3 separate regions of the Homo sapiens genome follow, and all the other regions are linked to region 3. Evidence: promoter capture Hi-C in 16 types of primary human blood cells and fetal thymus (Javierre and others, 2016). All regions are on one chromosome and are shown on one strand. Each heading gives the region's core, a stretch centred on a gene start or on the middle of the fragment in contact. The rest is flanking DNA. Distances are from core to core; before and after follow the strand shown. Region 1 holds the start of GAREM2 (GRB2 associated regulator of MAPK1 subtype 2). Region 2 overlaps DNMT3A (DNA methyltransferase 3 alpha). Region 3 holds the start of DTNB (dystrobrevin beta).

The links. Contacts are between HindIII fragments. The CHiCAGO score rates a contact against its expected background, and 5 or more counts as called.
Region 1: a contact is called between the fragment with the promoter of GAREM2 here and the fragment with the promoter of DTNB in region 3, in 6 of 17 cell types (naive CD8 T cells, total CD4 T cells, non-activated CD4 T cells and 3 more). The highest score is 9.0, in naive CD8 T cells.
Region 2: a contact is called between a fragment that was not itself captured here and the fragment with the promoter of DTNB in region 3, in 1 of 17 cell types (erythroblasts). The highest score is 5.1, in erythroblasts.

What each region holds. Positions count from the first base shown.
Region 1 is chr2:26,171,313-26,175,289 of GRCh38, forward strand. It overlaps GAREM2 (GRB2 associated regulator of MAPK1 subtype 2), which reads left to right and starts at 1,776. Exons shown (of 6, transcript NM_001168241.2): 1 at 1,776-2,020. The coding sequence starts at 1,909. The HindIII fragment of the contact is 3,276 bases long and covers 410-3,685 here.
Region 2 is chr2:25,329,726-25,333,816 of GRCh38, forward strand. The region is part of intron 1 of DNMT3A (DNA methyltransferase 3 alpha); the gene reads right to left. Among named protein-coding and RNA genes, the nearest start is that of MIR1301, 3.0 kb to the left of the region's middle. RefSeq lists enhancers at 300-800, 801-1,301. The HindIII fragment of the contact is 4,771 bases long and covers 302-4,091 here.
Region 3 is chr2:25,671,959-25,676,310 of GRCh38, forward strand. DTNB (dystrobrevin beta) reads right to left here and starts at 1,619. Exons shown (of 21, transcript NM_021907.5): 1 at 1,428-1,619. RefSeq lists silencers at 1,068-1,997, 1,362-1,656 and an enhancer at 3,805-4,014. The HindIII fragment of the contact is 7,823 bases long and covers 1-3,585 here.

The DNA.
Region 1 (3,977 bases), core at 526-3,025, 500 kb after region 3:
GTGGGGTTCTTCCGGGGGTACCGAGGCTGAGGACTGATGGATCGAGGCGGGTGGATCACTTGAGTTCGGAGTTCGAGACCAGCCTGGCCAACATGGCGAAACCCTGTCTCTACTAAAAATACAAAAATTAGCCAGGTGAAAAATTAGCCGGGCATGGTGGTGCTTGTCTGTAATCCCAGCTACATATGTAATTCCAGCTACTCAGGAAGCTGAGGCAGGAGAATTGCTTGAACCTGCGGGGCGGAGGTTGCAGTGAGCCGAGATCGTGCCACTACACTCCCGTGAGGGAGCAGCCTAGGGACTAAGGCCCGCTGGCTCCGCGAGATCAGCCAGGCCCGCATCATCCCCCAATTACCTGCAGAGGGCGCCGCAGACACAGAGAGGGCGAGGCCGAGGCCGAGGCCATCTAAGCTTCTGGGAAGGGGGTCCCAAAGGGAGGCCCCGAGCTGGAGTCCAGGGGGCTTGGAAGGAAGAGGTGAGGACAGCAGAAAAGGAAACGCAAATTAAAAGAAGGGAACGAAGGCTGGGCGCGGTGGCTTACGCCTGTAAGTCCAGCACTTTGGGAGGCCGAGTCGGGAGGATCGCTTGAGGTCAGGAGTTCAAGACCAGCCTGGCCAACATGGTGAAACGCCGTCTCTACTAAAAATACAAAAAAATTAGCCAGGAGTGGTGGCAGGTGCCTGTCATCCCAGCTACTCCGCAGGCTGAGGTGGGAGGATCGCTTGAGCCCGGGAGGTGGGGGTTGCAGTGAGCCGAGATCGCGCCACTGCACTCCAGGCTGGGTGATAGAGTGAGACCCAGTCTCAAAAAAAGAGAAGGAAAAGAGAGAAGGGATGGTGGCGGTGGGGGAGGAAGGCGGTTCTTGTAATGATCCGAGAGGAGACCGCAGCACCGGTTACGCCCTCGAACCTCGGCCTCCTCATCTGCAGAATGGACGCAGTCCACACCGCGTGCTGTGGAAGGGTTGGAGCGCCGGTTTACATGACACAGGGCTATCGGCTAAGGGGGCGCTGGGAACGTGGAAGGTGCTCTATGGTGGGGCGCTGTAGGGTGCTCTTGGGCAGTAGGGTTGGAGTCAAATCTGGGTTGAAGTCCAACCTAGGTTGAAGTCCTGGCTGCCACCTGACCTCTGCCCCTCAGTTTGCTCATCAGTAAAATGGGGTTAAGGAGGCTGCCTCGCCCAGCTCCACGGAGCCGGAGGTGATGAAGGTCCTGGAAGAGCAGAATTCAGAACCCGAGCTTTGGGCGGCGGAGCAGGACAGGGCGCGGGTGGGCGCGGCCTCCGGGAGGCCAGCACGAGGGGGAGCGGCGGGGCCCGGACACACCCAGCCAGAAGGAGGAGGCCGACCCCGCGCCGACTCCGCAGATGCCGCTCGGGACTTCGTTGTCCCTCCAGGCGCCCGCCCTGGGGTCCTCCATCACCCGCCGTCACCTGGGCGCGGGGAAGCTGGCGGGAGGGGAGGCGGGGCTTGGCGGCAGCGGCGGGTGGGGGCCGGGGAGCGGGGGCAGGGGCGGGCGGACGGAGCGCGGGGCTGGGGACCCGGGGTCCCAGAAGGGGGCGCGGGGACGGGGTCCGAGGAGAGGGGGCCGGGGCGGGGCAGGGCGGACAGGGCTGGGGGCGGAGGTCCGGGGGTGGGTCCGGCGGCGAGTCCGGGTCGGGGCGGACAGAGCAGGGGGCGGGGGTCCGGGAGGAGGGGGCCGGGGTCCGGGAGGAGGGGGCGGGGCCCGGGGGCGGGGCCGGGGTCGGCGCCCTGCGGGGAGGCCGGCCACGTGACGCCCGCGGCCCGGCGGGGCTGCCAGGCGGCGAGCGCCGCGGCGGCCCCGGGAGGTGGCGGCGGGCGCGAGAGCCTGGGCCGCGCGGGACTGACCGTCGGGGCCCCGGGACGGCGGCCCCGGGGCGCCCATGCCATGGAGAAGCTGGCGGCCGGGCTGGCCGGCCTGCGCTGGAGCATGGGCGCCTTCCCGCTCGACCTCATCGTCAGCCGCTGCCGCCTGCCCACGCTCGCCTGCCTTGGGCCAGGTACCGGGGTCGCTGGAGATGGGGACCGGGGTCCGCGGGGAAATGGTGGGCTCTCCAGCCAGGGGCCAGAGGGATCGTGAGGAGGGTGCGGCACCCGCACCCTCCCAGCTCCCCGGCGTGGGCCCCGAGCGGTTCCTGGCGCGCCTCCCGGGAGACGCGGGGCCCACCCGCCAGGTCCGCCTCCTGGGCCCCGCGGACAAGCACAGGCACAGACACCGGGGACAGGGCCCGGGACAGAGTTTTCCCGCCCAGCTGGAGTCCGGAAAGGGGCCGAGCCCCTGCTCCCGCCCCGTCGGTTGCCCCCCTTTCCCCCGCTGCCCCTGGGCCCCCCGCCCCGGCCGCGCCCCCTTGGTCCCTTTGTCCCTGGCCTCTCACCTCTGTCTTCCCTCATCCCTGGGACCCGGACTCTGTCTTCCCCTTACCGCCACCCCTAGTCCTGCTCCGCCCCTCTGGGGACCCTTCTTGCACCTCCTTTCTCTTCCCTAGGAGCAGCCTCGGTCCTGGGGCGGGCAGGCCACCTTCGGGAGAGGCCGGCGGGAGCCGGGTCTGCTGCCCGGCGTGACCCCCAAACTCCCGGCCCTCCCCCGAATCTTGTCCCACTTCTTAATAGGACCTGGGGCCCCCAGCCGCTCGGCTGATGGAACCACGCATGGGGGCCCGAGAGGGTACGCCCGGAGGCTGCATGGAGCGAGGGGACCGTTTGGGGGGAGGGGGGTGCTGCTTGGTTGGGGGATGGGCGGTAGCCGGGGCTGGCAGCCAGGCCGGGGGTTTTGTGTGTGAGAAGAATAGGGGTTTGGCCCGCGTTGGCACACTCGCTTCCATGAATGCTAATGGGGCCCGCGGCCGCAGGCTCCTCGTCTCCCCGTGGGGCCCGGCAGCCCCTCCTCCGTGGCGGCCAGGAGTGGGCACAGTGGGCGTCAGCTGTCCCGGGAGCAGGCTCATGGGGGAGCATCGGCGCCCCGCCGTCGGGCAGGCCAGCGTCTAGTTCTCTGGCTCGCGGCCGAGTGGTCAGAGTGTGGTACTGTGTCTGCCTGTGAATGGAGGTCGCTGCCCTGGGGTCTTCTGGCCACTTCCCACACATCCTTTTTGGCATCTCCCCTTTCTGGGCAGCTTTTCTGAGCTCCTCGGTCTGCGTAGGGCCTCCTTTGGGCTCCCCGGCCACCTCATGCCAACTCTGGCTTGTCTCCTACTGTGCACCCCATTATAATGGTCAGTCAGTTTATTGTCTTTAGACCTGGCTGTGGGCTCCTTGAGACCAGGCATCCTTGCCCAATAAAGATTATGGATTGAATGAATGGGTGAGTGAATGAACAACTGGTGTGATGGCCCAGCTGTCTGTTGTGTGTGACAGTGTGTGGCTATGGCTGGGTCACCATCAGGGTGTGAATGTCTGGTCAGAATTGTATGGCTTGAAGGGTAGGTCCCTGTGTGCCTGTGCATTTGGGAGGGGCCCCTTGGCCGGAGACTGAGTTATGTTGTTTGGGTGACAAGCATCTGTCACTGTGGGCTATTGTGGTTCAGCTGTTGGTGGTCATGAGCCATGATTACTGCTGTGTGCCCATGTGGCTGTGAAGATGGGGCTAGGACCCAGGACAGCTCTCAGAGGAGGGAGCAGAGTTGGAGGAGAGCTTCTTGGGCCCCCGGAGGTGAGGAGGTACAGGGGAAAGCTTAGACAACACCCCCAACACACACATAGTGGGGGCCAGGCCCTTCCTGTGCGTCTTGAACCGCCCGCCACCCTGCCACACACACACACACACATACACACACACGCCTACCCCACATGTACACATTTTATGGAGCCCCCAGCCATCAGAGTAAACCATTTCCCATTTGATTGGCAGAAATTTTGTAAGTTGTGCCTGAAGGAGAAAGGAAGGAGGTACTCCCTACCCCCACCCTCCCCACCAGCTGCAGCCCGGACACAGCCCCTTCTGCCTCCTGGAAGCTGGGCTGC
Region 2 (4,091 bases), core at 1,437-3,936, 340 kb before region 3:
CAAACACACATAGATGCACACACAGAGATATACCTAGACAAATGCAGAGATGACCCAGGCGCACAGGTTCACACACGCACACAGCCCCCCTCATGCTGCACACGCTGGGGCACCTGGAGCCAGAGGATGCTGGGCGGGCCTTCCGACACAGGCACACGCGTTGCACATTTCACCTACTGTATGGGCCAAAGAGGCATTTGGAAACCAGCTTGGGAACCTCATAACCATTCATAACATTGTTCTGAGAGAAAACACAAAACATTGCCCTATAAACAAACATTTGCAATAGAATTCCTCCAAAAGCTTGGAAATGCCTGTACTAGAAAACTAACAGAGCAAGAAGAGAAAAACCACATAAACTTGGTTTGCCTCTGCAAAATTAATACCAATTACAAAAACATTTATGTGAACTGCTTACCATTTACACCTAATTACCATGCAGCACAATTATGCATATCATTAAGGGTATGCCAGATTAATTATGCTGTACATTTCATTTGATTACAACGCCACACCCTGAGTTCATGTATGCCCCACTTCCAGGGGGCCAGTCCTGCAGCATGGCTGCTTGCACAGGTCTGCACAAACCAGAGAAACGTGGATTTCCACACTCGGATGGACCGCAGCCCCCACCCCACCCCCAGCCAGAGACAGCCCGACTCCCACCCGGCCTTCTTGGCAGCATCAACAAGAGCCCCGCTGCGAAGCCATCTTCCCAGCAGATCCTCCAGAATGCAGAGATGCTTCAAAGGTCTCCCCAGGGGTGTGGCTGCATGTCACAAGGCCACCATACAGCCCAAGGGCCATCATGTACGGCCCTCACAGAGGAAGCGGCCCTCTCTGCCATCTCCTGAGGTCTGGCTCGGAAAGCAGGGCAGCCTAGCCCATGTCCAGGCCAAGTCCTTCCCAAGCTCATCTCCCAGACCCACCAGGGCTCTGTGCCCCTATCCCCTGGCACACTGAGCCAGCTACAGGGCAAGGTCCCAGCTGTGGTCCCACTGGGTCCTGCAACATCCCCCCTGTCCCCCATGCCCTCTGCTCTCCCGGACAGCTCTGCACAGACCCTCCCTCCCCTTATTAAAAAGAAAACAGGAACTGACCCCCAATAACTCCCATTTAGCTCAGTAGATGCTCTTCAAATACACTGGGTGAACCAGGTTTGCAGGGAATAATTGGGAACAAGAGAGTCAATAGAACATGACGAATGGACCTTCCCAGGAAGGGGGAACTCAAAACTTGGAGTTTTGGAGGGAACAGGAGGAAACAGGCTTCTTGGGAGGCAAAGAACCAGAGGAAGTGCAGAAGCGAGGGAGGGAAGGAAAAAATATCCAGGTTTAGTCCAAGAAGCAATGCTCAAAACAAACAACACCAGCCTGTGAAGTTATGTCCATTTTACAGATGGTAAAACTGAGCCTAAGAAAGGTTGAGTGATCTTCCAATGACACGCAGCAAGGAGGTGGCAGGGGTGAGGTGAAACCATCATCTGTCCAGTCCCCAGCCTGGTGGCCCCAGCACGATGCCACACTGCTCCTGGCCTCTATCTAAATTCAATGATGCTGACATGGCTCACGTCATTTTTTGAGAAATTCTTTGGAAATAGCCTTCCACATTATCCTTCACATAACACACATAAGCCTCCTTTCTATTTTAGAGGAACAGTTTTTGCTTCTTTTCTGTTTGCTTTCCAAAAATGCTGTCCCCAGCTTGTCCCTCCTATCTCTCTCCGCAGACCTGCCTCTGAATGGAGAGTGACGGAAAGGCTGGACAGCTTGACATCAACTTCCAGCCCACCCAAAGATTCTCAGACGGTGATGATGCTCGCCGCAGGTCCTGGGTGGAGGGCCAGGGTCTAGGCCTTGCAGCTCATCTTTTGGGGAAATCACTGTGAAGTAGAGGCGCTAACTCATCAGCATTCCCAATGCAAGGGTGCGAGCACCTTCCTCAAAATCTTCCTTCAAACATCTGCAGGGGTCGTACCAGTTACAGACTGAAATGCACCTGCCTTTCTCATCCATCGCACAAGGCACCCCGCCTCCAGGCCTTATGACTCAGGCTCCAGCCTCCTTCTGCAAGCCTGGCCTGGCTCAGCCTCCCCCTGGGGAAATCCCACCCGCCCTCAAGCCCCAGCTACAACCCAGCTCCATGTGGGAGGCACCTCCTGCTCTCTCCGACTCCCCCCAACCCATGCCCCCTCCATGAAGGGCATCCCCACCCACACAGTTGGCTGAGCTAGAAACCAGACAGCCACCCCAACTCCCCTCATTGCTTTTATCCCGCCTGTTCCTACTGACTGCACTTCCTAAATGTCACACCACGCACACCCTGTCCAGGCCCACATTGCTGCCCCGGACTTCTGTGCCAGCCTTCCACCCGGGCTCCCTGCCCCTAAACCCTATTGCCCGAGCTCTCGTCCTCGATGCCCTAGAATGATCCTTCTCAAATATAAATCCCAAGCCCAACGTCCGTTCATAACATCCCGCCTTCCATGTCCCCCGGCCCAGGCCCCTGGCTTCGTATCCCATCGTTCCCTACACTGCAGCCACATGGGGCCAGAAAGTGCCGTCGTCCACCTAGCTAACTGCTCCCTCCGCTTCGAGACTCAGCTCAAGCGTCACCTCCTTTAGAAAGCCCTTCCAGATCTTCTCTCCCCCTGAATCCGACTTCCTTCTCTGAGCCCTGGTAATCCCTGGACATGGTGTGCCAGGGGTCCTTCCGCCCTGCCAGACCCCACCTAAGCTGCAGGGTCATTGAGATGAGTGTGACCCCCTTCATCTATGCAGCCTGTGTCTGGCACACAGTAGGTCTCTTAGATGAATGGATGAACATCATTTGTGGATCTGAGGCAGGGACCTCTGGAAAGAAAACTCAAGTGCTGCCAGGCCTGCCAACTCGGGGGCCAGCATCTCGCCATGCCGTGCCCTGGCTCCCTCTGATTCCAGGCTGCTGGCAGGGTGTTGACAGAAGAAAACGCAGAGGTGACTGACTGCCCAGCCCCACTGGGCTTCCCAGCTGAGCTTCCAGTACCAGGCAGGGCCCTCAGGCCACCACCAGTTGGGCTGGGAACCACCAGCCTGTGCGTGGATGGCAACAAGCACCACATTGTTGCTGGTAATAAAACCATTAGGAGCCCTTGCTGCGTGCCAGCTGCCAGGCCGGGCTGTGGTCTAGACCCTCCCCTGCCTCCAGGCCGTGGGGCAGAGCCAGAACCCAGCAAAGGCCACTCTCCGCTTAGCTCCAAAGAGACCAGTGGGCAGGGAGGGAAAGAGGGCCCAGGCCTTGAGCAGGCTACTGGGTCCCCACATGGACAGGGGACTCTGAAGAGATCAAAAAAGGTACAGGCAAATCCTGGCTTCACAGGAAGAAGTGGAGGTGCAGAAAGGCTAAGAGAAAAAGGGACAACTTATTGGCAGCTGGAAAAAGGGACCTGGGTCAGATAACGGAAGCTAAGGAGGACAGAGACATCTTTCTCTATCCCTGCCACTCCCCTGTGGCCCCTGACTCCCAGCCCAGAGTCCACCATGGGCTTGGGGGTCATTCTCAACTTGATTATCTCTTCCCCTCACCGTGAGGGGCCATGGGGAGGACAGGCCACACTTGCAGGTCTTTTTTTTTTTTTTCTTTTGAGACGAAGTCTCACTCTGTCGCCCAGGCTGGAGTGCAGTGGCGCGATCTCGGCTCACTGCAACCTCCACCTCCCGGGTTCAAGTGATTCTCCTGCCTCAGCCTCCGGAGTAGCTGGGATTACAGGCGTGCACCATCACACCCAGCTAAATTTTTGTATTTTTAGTAGAGAGGTGGTTTCACCATGTTGGCCAGGCTGGTCTCGAACTCCTCACCTCAGATGATCCACCCGCCTCGGCCTCCCAAAGCGCTGGGATTACAGGCGTGAGCCACTGCACCTGGCCACTTGCAGGGTCTTACAGAGCAGCAGGGCCTTACAGAGCAGCAGGGCTTTGTGGGGGTCACCCTAACCAGGCAGCCCTGGAACAACCCCCACGTAAAGAAAAGCAGCTCATGCCTCCTGAGCACCTTCTCTGTGCCAGGCATAGTGCTAGCTGTTTCACAAAATATTGCACGTCATTCAGGCAACC
Region 3 (4,352 bases), core at 369-2,868:
GGACCAAAATGAAAAAGTGTTCTCTAGACAACACTACCCTCTTCCTTCTCAAGTAATAGAAAAAGCCAATGGGAGAAGGAACAAAATGGGATGATCTCAAGCAACAGGCCAAGGAGCAAGCTCTTGAAGGCCAACATGAAAGACACATGGGAAAGTGGTAGCATGGCCACAGAAACCAAGACCTCGCCGCCTTAGCCATTGCTTTAACGTGCCCAGACCTCAGAACCGGGGTTGCCTCGCATAGCAAAAAAAAAAAAAAAAAAAAAAAAAAAAAAAGAGGCAGAGAGAGAGAACTTGTGGAACAGGAGAAATCCAGCAACCTTCCCTAACACTAGAGTGACTGACACTGCTCCATGGCAAATGTGGCCAAACCTTGCTTGTCCATTCATTCATGCAATAGACACTTATGGCTCAACCGCTGTGAGCCAGGCAACATTCTGAAGATTTAGCAGTCAATAGTCATGGAGCTTATTTCTAGATGGGAAGGAAGGAAACTTCCTTTCTTTCCAAACGTCTTTTTTCCCCATCTAAGAGCCCCCTTTAAATGTTACCCGTAGGAGCCTTCAAAACTCTCCCAAATTTCTCCCATAGGCTTCTTTTGACCTTTCTGCTTTATCCCCAAAACCACGCAATTTATGGCTCCAATTTCCCAATACTGGGAAAAGACAAAAGAGACCGAAAGTAAATAGGGCATGCGACATAAAATTCGACGCTCCTTTGTATTTCATGTGCATATCTTCACAGCCACACTGTCAGCACCTCAATAACATGACGGTGTTCCATACTATTTCGTGGCCCCAGTGCTGACTACGGGTCTCTACCTACGGTAGCTGGAAGGTCTTCCTAATCCCAAGGCCTGGCACAGGAATTTAAGGGCAAGTATTCGTCACCGGCATCCTCGTCTCGGGACACTTCTTTCCTGTCCAGGGTGACCTCCTGGACAGGTTCGCTATTAGGCGCCTCGGGAAACAGTGATTTGGGGTGATCTGAAATAAATACCCTTCCCTCTGCCAGGGCCTGCCCGCCTCACCTGCCCTCTGCCAGGACCTGCCTCACTCGCCCCTTCAGCACCTAACGCAGAGCCGCCTCCAGGCGAGCCGGGCTCGGGCAGCATCAGCCCGGCGCCGGGCCCCCGCTCGCGCCCGTGCCCCGGCGCGTTCCGGACCCCGATACCCCTCCCGGCCCGGGATCCGCCGCATCCCCTCTGCCTGTCCCTCCGGGGCTAGCCGCGCCGTCCCACCTCGCAGCCGCGCGCGGTGCAGCGGCCCCGGCTCCCCGCGCCCTCCCCGACTCCTGCAGCGCCGCACCCGCAGGCTCCCGGGTCCCCAGTCCCGGCGCAGCGCGAGCTGCCGTCCCGCACCTCGCGGGCGCGAGGCTCCAGCCCAGCTCGTCTCCCCACAGCCCCGGCGGCGGCCGCAGACCCCCACCTTGCTCACTTCCCCGCCGGAGCAGGGGTCGTCGGGAAGGTCTCCTGCGGCCTCACTCCTCCGCACGCTCCGGCCCAGCCCCCTCGGCTGAGGCAGCGGCAGCGCCTACTCAGGCCCCGGAGCCACCCCCGCGGCGAACGTTCGCAGCGCCCGGCTCGCGCCGCTTCTCCGCCCGGCACGCGCAGCGCCCGCCCCCGGCGCGAGGGCGCGAGGGCGGAGGGCGGAGGGCGGATGGGCGGGCGCGCGCCCAGCGCGAGCGCGCGGCCGGGGGCGTGGCTTCCGCGCGCGGGGAGGGGGCGGGAGCGGCCGAGCAACCCCCCTCCACCCCGCCCCCGCGGCCGCGCCCCGCCCACCGGTCGCCGGCGGGTTCCGGGCAGGCGGGAAGCTGGCTCCATCCAGGCTTCTCCCGCTCGCTGGCGTCGGGCCGGGTGTCTTTCCATCCGCAGGTATCCGTCGGCGGGGTGCCCGGCCCGACGTGACTACCCGACAAAGAATGCAAAGAGCCACCCCGTGAATCATTCTCCGCGCCTGGGTCACAAGCCTGTGCCCGAGTGACCCCCGTGAACTCCGCAAGCTAGCCCAGCCGCGGCGTGCGCCCCGCGCTGCACCAGGTGCCTGTGGGCGCACGATCACGGTCACGGCGCCTGGGCTCGAGGCGCCCCAAACTTAGCGGGGAAAACAGCCATGTACACAACCAAGTCCGATGACCCGTGCAGAGCCAAGCCACGGTGCGATGCTGGCACAGAAGCTAGAGACGACTTCTGCTTGGACGCCGCAGAGGGCTAGAGGCGGCATTTATGGTCAACCTCGAAGGAAGAAAAAGAAGTCCTAGGAGGAAAAAGGGAGGACATTAGGGCTGGGAAAACAGTTTGGGCAAAGGAGCCGGGGCAGCCAGGTTTACCATCTCAGCACCAGCTTTTTTGTGTTTTACTGTTATCCATCTTTTATAGAATTCTTTCCAAACTGTGAAATACAGGAGATGGTGCCAAATTAGAATATAGCAAGGACTTTTTGAATGGTTCAAATGGTCATTCTCAACGTTACTTAAGACTCAAAACAGCAACGTCCTTTGGGGGCTATTGGTCAATGATGAAGGCTGTAAGCTCCAGAGCTAAGCGACCCCAGGCCTGCATGCTGGGAGTATGGTTTTCACTGCTTTTTGGCACCTTACGGTAAGGCAGATCGTGCCACCTCCTGCTGCTGCCTGCCTGCCTGCCTGCCTGCCTTTAGAACACCCTCTTCCTCCTCCTCTCCTCTTTTTATTTTTAAACTCCTATGGTGAAGGAAATGCTGATAACCAACTTTGTTAAATGGGAACAAATAGGTTCCTCAAAAGATGAGCATTTTCTGGCCTGCCGCGGAGGCTCACGCCTGTAATCCCAGCACTTTGGGAGGCTGAGGCAGACGGATCACTTGAGGTCAGGGGTTCGAGACCAGCCTGGCCAACATGGCGAAACTCTGTCTCTACTAAAAATACAAAAATTAGCCGGGCGTGGTGGTGTACGCCGTAATCCCAGCTACTTGGGAGGCTGAGGCAGGAGAATCGCCTGAACCTAGGAGGCAGAGGTTGCAGTGAGTCGAGATCGCACCACTGTACTCCAAGTCTGGGCAAGAGAGTGAGACTCCGTCTCAAAATAAATAAATAAAGATGGACATTTTACCTTTTACCTTACATATATGAAGTGTGTGAATATTTTCATGCTTGAGGAGACTTATCTCTTGTAGGCACGGTCTTGGCTATGTTTTGTACATATTAAGATACTCAGAATACAGGTAAGAGACCTCTAGCTTCTTTATTTGCCCTTTTTGAGCACCCCCTATGTGGAAGGCATTGAGAGGGGTAAAACATTGATTCTGTTCTTTGGAGAAAAGATGTGTAAATAATATAAAATAAATGTGTAAATATCGCTTGATATGTTCGGTTTATTGATTGAAACCAAGGTAATTTCAATATGTGGACTAGACAATCCTAAACCATAAGGGAATTAAATACTTCAAGGACACTGTATTGGCATCTCTCCATCTCTGTTCTCTATTTCTTCACCTCCCACATCCTCAGAAAACTTTTCAAACACCTTTCAATCATTCTCCCCCTCTCACTCCAAAATTACCAACTTCTCTTTACTTGTCTCTTTCCTTCATCATCTATTCATGTTTAAGCTTTTCCTGTCCTCAAGAAAAAGGAAGAAACCCTTTCGCTGTCCCTCTAGATTCTGCTTCAGTTACTAGTCCCTCTCTGAGTTTTCCTTCATAAATATCTTGAAAGTCATCTACCCTCATCTCTACCTCCTCAGCAGCTCCTCAGCTCCTCAAACCTATGTAGTTTCTGTCCACACCACATCACTGCATTGCTCTCAGTCATGAATGGCTTGTTGGATCCTAAATACCACAAGCCATCTCTGAGTCCTCATATTGTTAGAACTCTCAGTGACATTGAACAGAGTAGCCCACTCTTTCTGAAACTCCCTTGGTGTCATGGCATGACTCCTGTCTTAACCCCTGTGACCACTTCTCAGTTTCACAGATTCTCTCCTCAGCTGGTCTCACGCCACACATTCTCCCTGGACCATTCCATCCACTCCGCTTCTTTATCTACCGCATATCAGCAACTCCCAAGTGCACTCTCTCTAGCTCAGGCCACTCATCTGGGTTCCTTATTCACAAAAGCCCGCCAGACTTCTCCACCTGGGTGTCCTAGAGGTACCCCACGTTCTACATGTCTAAACTACTGTCCACCCAGTTGACCAATTCAGAAACTGGGGGGCCATTCTTGATTCCTTCTTCTCCCACCACCCCTCTGCCCTGACTCCATACCCAACAACCACTAAGTCCCATTGATGCTTCCTCATAAATAAATAACTAGAATCTTTCCCTCTTAGCCCACCTCCCCTAAACTAATGCAGCAGCTTTGTTTGTTTGTTCTGG